2 separate regions of the Homo sapiens genome follow, and region 2 is linked to region 1. Evidence: promoter capture Hi-C in human tissues and cell types (Jung and others, 2019). All regions are on one chromosome and are shown on one strand. The core of a region is centred on a gene start or on the middle of the fragment in contact, and the rest is flanking DNA. Distances in the headings are between cores, read along the strand shown. Region 1 holds the start of TEKT4 (tektin 4). Region 2 overlaps LOC105373487 (a long non-coding RNA gene).

What was found. The method cuts DNA at HindIII sites, captures the fragments that hold promoters and counts their contacts. A contact is called where the count stands out against the background at its distance.
Region 2: a fragment that was not itself captured here is called in contact with the fragment with the promoter of TEKT4 in region 1 in 3 of the 25 tissues and cell types used here (dorsolateral prefrontal cortex, lymphoblastoid cells and mesendoderm cells).

The regions. Positions count from the first base shown.
Region 1 is chr2:94,869,888-94,873,540 of GRCh38, forward strand. TEKT4 (tektin 4) reads left to right here and starts at 1,543. Exons shown (of 6, transcript NM_144705.4): 1 at 1,543-2,190; 2 at 3,633-3,653. The coding sequence starts at 1,693. It overlaps LOC442028 (a long non-coding RNA gene), which reads right to left. Exons shown (of 10, transcript NR_037597.1): 9 at 3,502-3,653; 10 at 1-810. RefSeq lists enhancers at 340-853, 1,367-1,880. The HindIII fragment of the contact is 10,124 bases long and covers 1-3,653 here.
Region 2 is chr2:94,959,331-94,963,079 of GRCh38, forward strand. LOC105373487 (a long non-coding RNA gene) reads left to right here. Exons shown (of 3, transcript XR_923074.3): 3 at 1-3,096. Among named protein-coding and RNA genes, the nearest start is that of MAL, 65 kb to the right of the region's middle. The HindIII fragment of the contact is 6,517 bases long and covers 1-3,749 here.

The DNA of each region.
Region 1 (3,653 bases), core at 293-2,792:
GGCATCCTGCCCTGCGTGTGGGCTCCAGCCTGCTGCCATCTGGGGAAACTGAGTCATGGCGAGGCTCGAGGATGTTTCTCAGACCACACCAGTCCCTGAAGGTCCCCTGACCTCCCAATTTTGATGGACAGTAAGAAGAGGTTCCCAGGCCGCCTGCCACAGGTTCTGACTCGGCCTGGGTTAGGGTAAGTCTCCGGGCTGCTGTCCTCAAAAGCCCCATCAGGAGGCTGTGTCAGGCCAGGCGCACCGTGGTGACAGCAGCATGGACTGAGGGTTCTGGCCGCGGGAGAGGCCAGGACGGGGGGAGGTCAGGTCCAGGAGGAGGGCACTGGCCGGCACATGGTGGGGCTGGAGAGACCCTGGGCGGGGTGGTGGGAATGGCCCAGGAGGAGCTCCGGCTCCTGTGGCTGGAGTGAGGGTGTGGGCTGTGGTGGGAGAGGGGGTGAAGGTGGAGAGAACAGGGGCCCAGAGGTCTGTGCTGTAGGAAGGGTATGGACTTCCTAGTGAGGACTTTCTGGTGGGGGGCTCTCAGAGAAGAGGAGGCCGGAGGGGCTGGGGGTCCCCAGGACTGCATGCGCCAGGCAGACGGAGGGGAGGCCGAGCCAGGAGCCGCAGGCTTCTCAGTGCCAGACCAACGTCGCCCTCCGCTGGCCGTGTGGGGAATCGCGCCTAGGCTGGGGCTCCCCTGGCCCCAGGTTAGGGGGACTCCGATGTGTCCTGGGGCGCTTCCTGCCCATCCAGCCTCCGCCAGGCAGCCTGGCCCTGAATGGCTTTGAGGGCAGCCTCCGCAGCACAGGACCTGCCTCCGCCCTGTGGGGCAGATTTGGGCGTCTGACTCTGGACACTTACCCAGAGGCTGAATTCAACTCCCCAGCGAAGAGCACACTCAGACTCCCTCCCCGCTGTGCCCAGCCTGAGGGGACCCTGGCTTGGACTTGGGAGGAGAAGGCCAGAGGCCAGGGCCTGGCTCTCAGGCACTAGGTGCAGGAGAAAATGGAGCAGAGTTCCTGCAGGAACTGCCTCAGACTGCCCCCGAGGGGACCTGGCCTGGAACCCTCCCTGTGCTACCAGGCTGCTGTTGGGGCCAGGAGGGCAGGGAGAGCAGCCACCTGTACGGCATCAAGTAACACTATCAGTCAGCACACCCAACACCCACACGACAGCCACAGCCCTCTGCCCTGAGGTGGCTGCAACTGAGCAGAGTCTCCTGTCTTGTTCACCCTGAGCGCGGAGCTCCGCACAGGACAGGATCAGAGCGCAAACCAGGAACAAATGGATGAACCAAGGAAGGGGCCAGGGCAGTAGGTCCCCACCCACACCCTGAACCCTAAGGGTGGGACTCAGAGGCTGGAGACGGGCTGGCCCCAGGATCCTCTAAGTGACAGGAACCCTTGGCCACTGTTGATTGCCCCGAGGCGGGGACAGGGATGGTGGGGCTGGGGCTGCCTGGCCCTTTAAGAGGGCAGTTCTGCCCACCACCCTGAATGCCCCTCCCCTAGCTACTGGAGAAGAGATCCCGTTTCTTGGCAACAGGAAGCTCTTGGTTTACACAGTGTCACCCAAGCGACTGGGAGCCGCGTCCTGCTCTGGGACTGAGCCGTTGGAGCTGCCCCGCTGACCGCACTAGGCTGACCGCAACCGGCTGACCACACACAGTCCTCACTCCCCTGGCCCTGGTGGGCGGCAGGCACCATGGCGCAGACAGTGCCGCCCTGCGAGCTGCCCTGCAAAGAGTACGACGTGGCCCGTAACACGGGCGCCTACACGTCCTCCGGCCTGGCCACCGCCAGCTTCCGCACCTCCAAGTACCTGCTGGAGGAGTGGTTCCAGAACTGCTATGCTCGCTACCACCAGGCCTTCGCCGACCGCGACCAGTCGGAGCGGCAGCGGCACGAGAGCCAGCAGCTGGCCACAGAGACCCAGGCGCTGGCGCAGCGCACGCAGCAAGACTCCACGCGCACAGTGGGCGAGCGACTGCAGGACACGCACAGCTGGAAGTCGGAGCTGCAGCGTGAGATGGAGGCGCTGGCTGCGGAGACCAACTTGCTCCTGGCCCAGAAGCAACGGCTGGAGCGCGCCCTGGACGCCACAGAGGTGCCCTTCTCCATCACCACTGACAACCTGCAGTGCCGTGAGCGCCGCGAGCACCCCAACCTCGTGCGCGACCATGTGGAAACGGAGCTGCTGAAGGTGCCAGCACCCTTGGGTGGCCGGGATTTGTGGGCGCAGAGAGGAGGAGCCCCCCCCCCCGCAGTTCATGTGGACAAGCCACGTGGCTGCTGCAAGCACGCGGGAGCCCAGCCCTCTGCACGTGAGACCCCTGAGTCCCGAAATCTGGCCCCTTAGTGACAGGAGGCAGCTTTGCCCCAGAAGACCCCTGACTTCCAAGCAGCTGTTTCTCCTCTCCTCCTCTAATCCCTTTGAGTCCTGGCACAGTCATCCTGACCCTGGGCTCCCTGGGCTAAGCCACAAGGCACCTCCCCAGAGACCCTCCCTCGCTGGGACAGTTGCTCCCAAGGTGGAAACCCAGGTCTGGGCCAGCACTGCAGGTGTGGACAGGTAAGGTGGGGTGGGCTGGGAGCCACTGCTCCCATTCATCCTATACAGAGCCGGGGACACAAAGATCTGCACCCACAGGTCCCCTCTCCTCCATGTCCCCTATAACTTCCCAATCCACCCCAGCTTGTCTGTGGGGCAGCCCCACAGGGTGAGAGAGTAACTCAGTCCTGGCCCAGATGCTGGCTCTGGAGAATTCTCTGACCTCTCAGAGCCTGGGGCCTCCCTGAGAACCACTACAGGCCTGTAGACATTCGTGAAAGATGTGGGGTGGGGGCAGCTGGTCTCCTGCCATACCCCAAGCTCAGGCAAGAACCCTTGAGTCCCTCCCTCCCCTCATGCCTTCCCTCCTCCCTTCTTTACCCTTCTGCAGGCCCTTCCCCCTGCACTCTCTCAGTGCCTCAAGAACTCCTGCAGCTCCCGCAAACTCTCTGCCCGCAACAAGGGCACCTGCCAACTGATGGAGACACTGACAGTGCACGGAGAGGCAAACCCAGGGATAGAGGGGCGCAGGACCCGGGCCCTGGCACACAAGGAAGTACCCAGTGGTTGAGGCAAAGACCCCAATCACAGAGAAAAGGCTTGTTCCTACACACAGCAAATTAAACTGGCCAGGCAATAAGAAGAAACACAGGGTCCTTCTCCTGTTCTTGGTGTGAAGATGGCCTTTCCCAGCACAGAGCCCTGAGGGGCAGCCTGGGCGGGCATCTGGGCCCCCAGAGTTTGGGTCCTCAGGGGCTGTCCAGAGGCCAAGGGCAGGCCAACGTTCCCAGGTGCACTGAGTGAGCAGCAGCGATGACTCCTGAAGCCTGGGGCGTGGGAACTGCCGCTGAGGGACCTTCCCAGCAGCCCACAGAAGGCCCTGGAGGAAAACACCCCACTTACAACGCACCAAGGAGAATGCCCAAAAGCCCAAGATAAACCCAGTGAGAGAGCAGAACTTACACAGTCAGAGCTCAGGCCCGGCATTCAACTCCTTGTGGTTGCTCAGGTGTTGACCAAGGCCTGCAGCAGCTGGGCCTCCTGGGATCCTCACCAGGGACTGGCTCTGGTGCTCAGGGCGTCTCCTCCCTCAGGAAGCCGAGCTCATCCGGAAC
Region 2 (3,749 bases), core at 828-3,327, 90 kb after region 1:
AACACCTGCACATTTTCTAAGCCATTTAGTTGAGAGGTCCTTGAGGCACTTACATCCCACTAACAGTATATACACCCAACTTCACAATTCTCTATTTTAATACCATTCTTCAACACCAGAAGCCAGTAATCTTCAGAAAAACAGCAGATTCTATGTATGGAAAAGATAATACGGAAAATAAGCTTAGGATTTCTTATAATACCAGAAAATAGGGAAGTGTTCAAAAACAAAAGGAGGAGATGTCATGTAAGGATACAGGATCCAAATTAAATGAACTCCAAGCACATAAAAAAAACTGTGATGATTTGAGCAAAAGCATAAATAATGAAGCATGGATCTTCCTCATAGTATAAAATAAGCATCTTTAAGCCAATACTATTATAATAGATGAGTAAATAAAATGTGAAAAGAAGGACGAATCTTCCTTACAGAGTTATTCAAAATATTTTAGGCTGATAGTATTCTCATCATGTAGGTGAGGTTTAAACACTCGTGTTGATTGTGGTCTGAGATTATAGAGATGGGAAAAAAAATCACTGCTAGTTTATTTTATAACCAGTTTTTAGAAATAATGCCAAAAACATGGTCTGTGAGTGAATACAATTATTCATGGTAATGTATCCAAATTTGCAAACACACATTTTTCTGCAATAAACACTGATAAGCAACTAAAAAGACAAATCACAGACTTGGAGAAAATATTTTCAAGTAGCATTTTTGTTAAATAATTTCTTTTAATTCAGTAAAGAATTAAAAGAATTGATTTCTATAATGAATATGCAAGTAAACTCAACAACATTATATAAAAATTGTTAAATATAAATTTTTCATTAGGGATATGAGCATTGAAACAAAAATTAGATTCCATTGCTCACCTATTAGAATGGTTAAAATGCACAATCCTCATGGTGAAAAATGGCCGTAAGAATGTGAAAAAACAAGAACTAATTTGCATTTATGTTGGGAATCCCAAATGGTGCATGCACAAAATGAAATACATTTTGACTTTTTTTTTAACAGAGATAAAAGAGTTGAAATATGATCTAGTGGCTGTGTTTCAAAATATTTAAAACACTGATTCAGAAATTGATGTTTACACAGGAAACCAGCTTCTGCTCTCTGACATATATCACCTGGTTTGTGCCAAGAGCATTAACCCTGGGAGCTCCTCCCAAAAAAATGGTTGTGCACAGGGGAGATGTTAAGCTATGGCTGCTCCTGGGACTCATCGGAGATTCCTGATGGGCATCTGTAATCAGGAAGTCATCAACAGCCTTGCCGGACTTAACTTGCTCCACAGGTTAACTAGGAAGCACCACCAAACTCCCACATTTCCCCATCACTAGTTGTAAGACTGGCATCCTGGCCTGACAGTGTCTACAGCCTCACCCAGCCTCCTGTGTGTTTTTCTGCCTGCCTTACTTACATCTCACTTTGGGACAAATAAGAAATTTTTTAAATAAACTTTTCTAATCTAGAGACCTCAGTGGTAGGCACAGAAACACAAATATAGAGAGGCTCCCAGGGAAACTGTTCGATGGAGAGGAAGCCACAGACCCTGAAGGAAAGCGGCCCTTGACCTTCAACTGCACCTGCCCTGGGGATGCCCCTAACTTCTGTGGGAGTGAGTGCCCTCTGCAGCCCAGGCTCCTTCCTTCTCTCTGCAGGATATTTTGCGTTTTGGCTGACACTGGTGTTCCCTCACTTGGTACCTTATGTACAATAATACGAGGCCATGTTCTCAGCTCTGACTGTTCATTCACAGGTACAGTGAGTTCTTGGCATTGTCTTTGGAAATGGTGAATCTGTCCTTCACAGATTTTGAATGGTATAACTGATTCATCATACTTCGTATTTACTGCTCACTCCAGCACCTTCTCTGAAGCCTGGTGGACTCAGCTAATTCAGTAGCTTCTCATTCAGTAGCTACTAAATTTGAATCCACGGGCTGCACAGAAGACTCTCAAAACCCTCAGGCTGTCTCAGGCCTTCTCCAGACTCCACCAGCTGAACCTCACTTGACACCTTCACATACATAGGCATGGTTAGAAACTGCCAAATGTATCCACTGTTCCTCTCACTCACATCCACTTATACTCACTATCTCTAATTCTCCATGAATAAGCTTTTAAAATAGCAACAAGAAAAATCTAGTATAGCTTAAAGCCCATACTGAATCTTGTGTTCAGTACTGATTACCAAGTGGAAACACCTGGAAATCCCAGGGCTGGTACTCCTCTCCCAGAGATGCAGGACCAGAACTGGGCTGTTTTTTATCAGTAGAAGGAGAACCCAATTGGAATGTCTCCTACTACATAGCAAGCTCTAAGGTGGGATGCCTTAGGATAGGACAGGGCCCAGAGCAGATGTGAGACTCCTGGAGTTTAGTGGCAACAAAAGAGTTTAGAGAAGCATAATTACTTAATATGTGATTGTGCCATGAAAATCACTTAGCAATATATTTTACATCTTTTTAACATTTTTAAAAATATATCTGCATTAAGCAAACTTTAAGAGATATAAAGGGTGAAATAGAAAAAAATACAATAATGGAAAAATATCTTAATATCTCACAGACCCCCACAGTATCTTAGCAGAAATCGGAGGCAGTGGAGGTCACCCCACTTGAATGAGAAAACAGCTGAGTTTGTAAAACTGCACTTGGCTTCTCCACAGGCTTTGAGGTGTGCAGGACCAGCCACTACCCCAGACTCAGGCATAGCCCCAGTCTCTGCTCTTCAATTTACACAACTATACAGGTTAATAATATATTTCAGAACTTCATAATCACACATACACATACACATACACACATATGCCCAGTACTTACAGGTACATAGGGAAATACAAAAATGAACACATCAAATACCAAAACAAAACCTGAATTTATTTACTACTGTTATAGTTATTGAATTTAATTGAAATTATTTTGTTTTACACTATGATGTAGTGCAAAATAATGTTTTTCTATGTGATTGTTTCTCTATCCCAATGCCAATAAACAAATATATCTAAATGCATGTTTTGGTAAAACTAAATGTAAATGCCATTCTTGCCAAATACATTAATTAAATGTACATAGTATTTATGCATAAACTCTGTGTTGGTTTATTTGTCATTTACATTTTTGGTGTATATATAAAATACATATACATATATATACAATGTATATATCATATATACACATATTATATATATGTATATATTTTATATATATGTGTGTGTGTTTGTGTGTATATATGTATTTTGAGATGGAGTCATGCTCTGTAGTCTAGGCTAGAGTGCAGTGACACAATCTCGGCTCACTGCAACCTCCACCTCCTGGGTTCAAGCGATTCTTGTGCCTCAGCCTCCTGAGTAGCTGAGATTATAGGTGCCCGCCACCACACCCGGCTAATTTTTTGTATATTTAGTAGAGACAGGGTTTCACCATGTTGGTCAGACTGGTCTCAAACTCCTGACCTCTTGATCCACCCACCTCAGCCTCCCAAATTGCTGGATTTACAGGCAAGAGCCACTGTGCCTGGCTGACATAATTTTTAAATATCAGTCAATTATTAATACATGTAATAACCAATAAGATAAACACCTTTAAAATTGTATTACATTATTGGTTAAGTTCACATTGTATTTTTTATAAAACTCAGGATAAAATACCTAATGCTAGATGACGAGTTGGTGGGTGCAGTGCACCAGCATGGCACATGTATACATATGTAACTAACCTGCACATTGTGCACATGTACCCT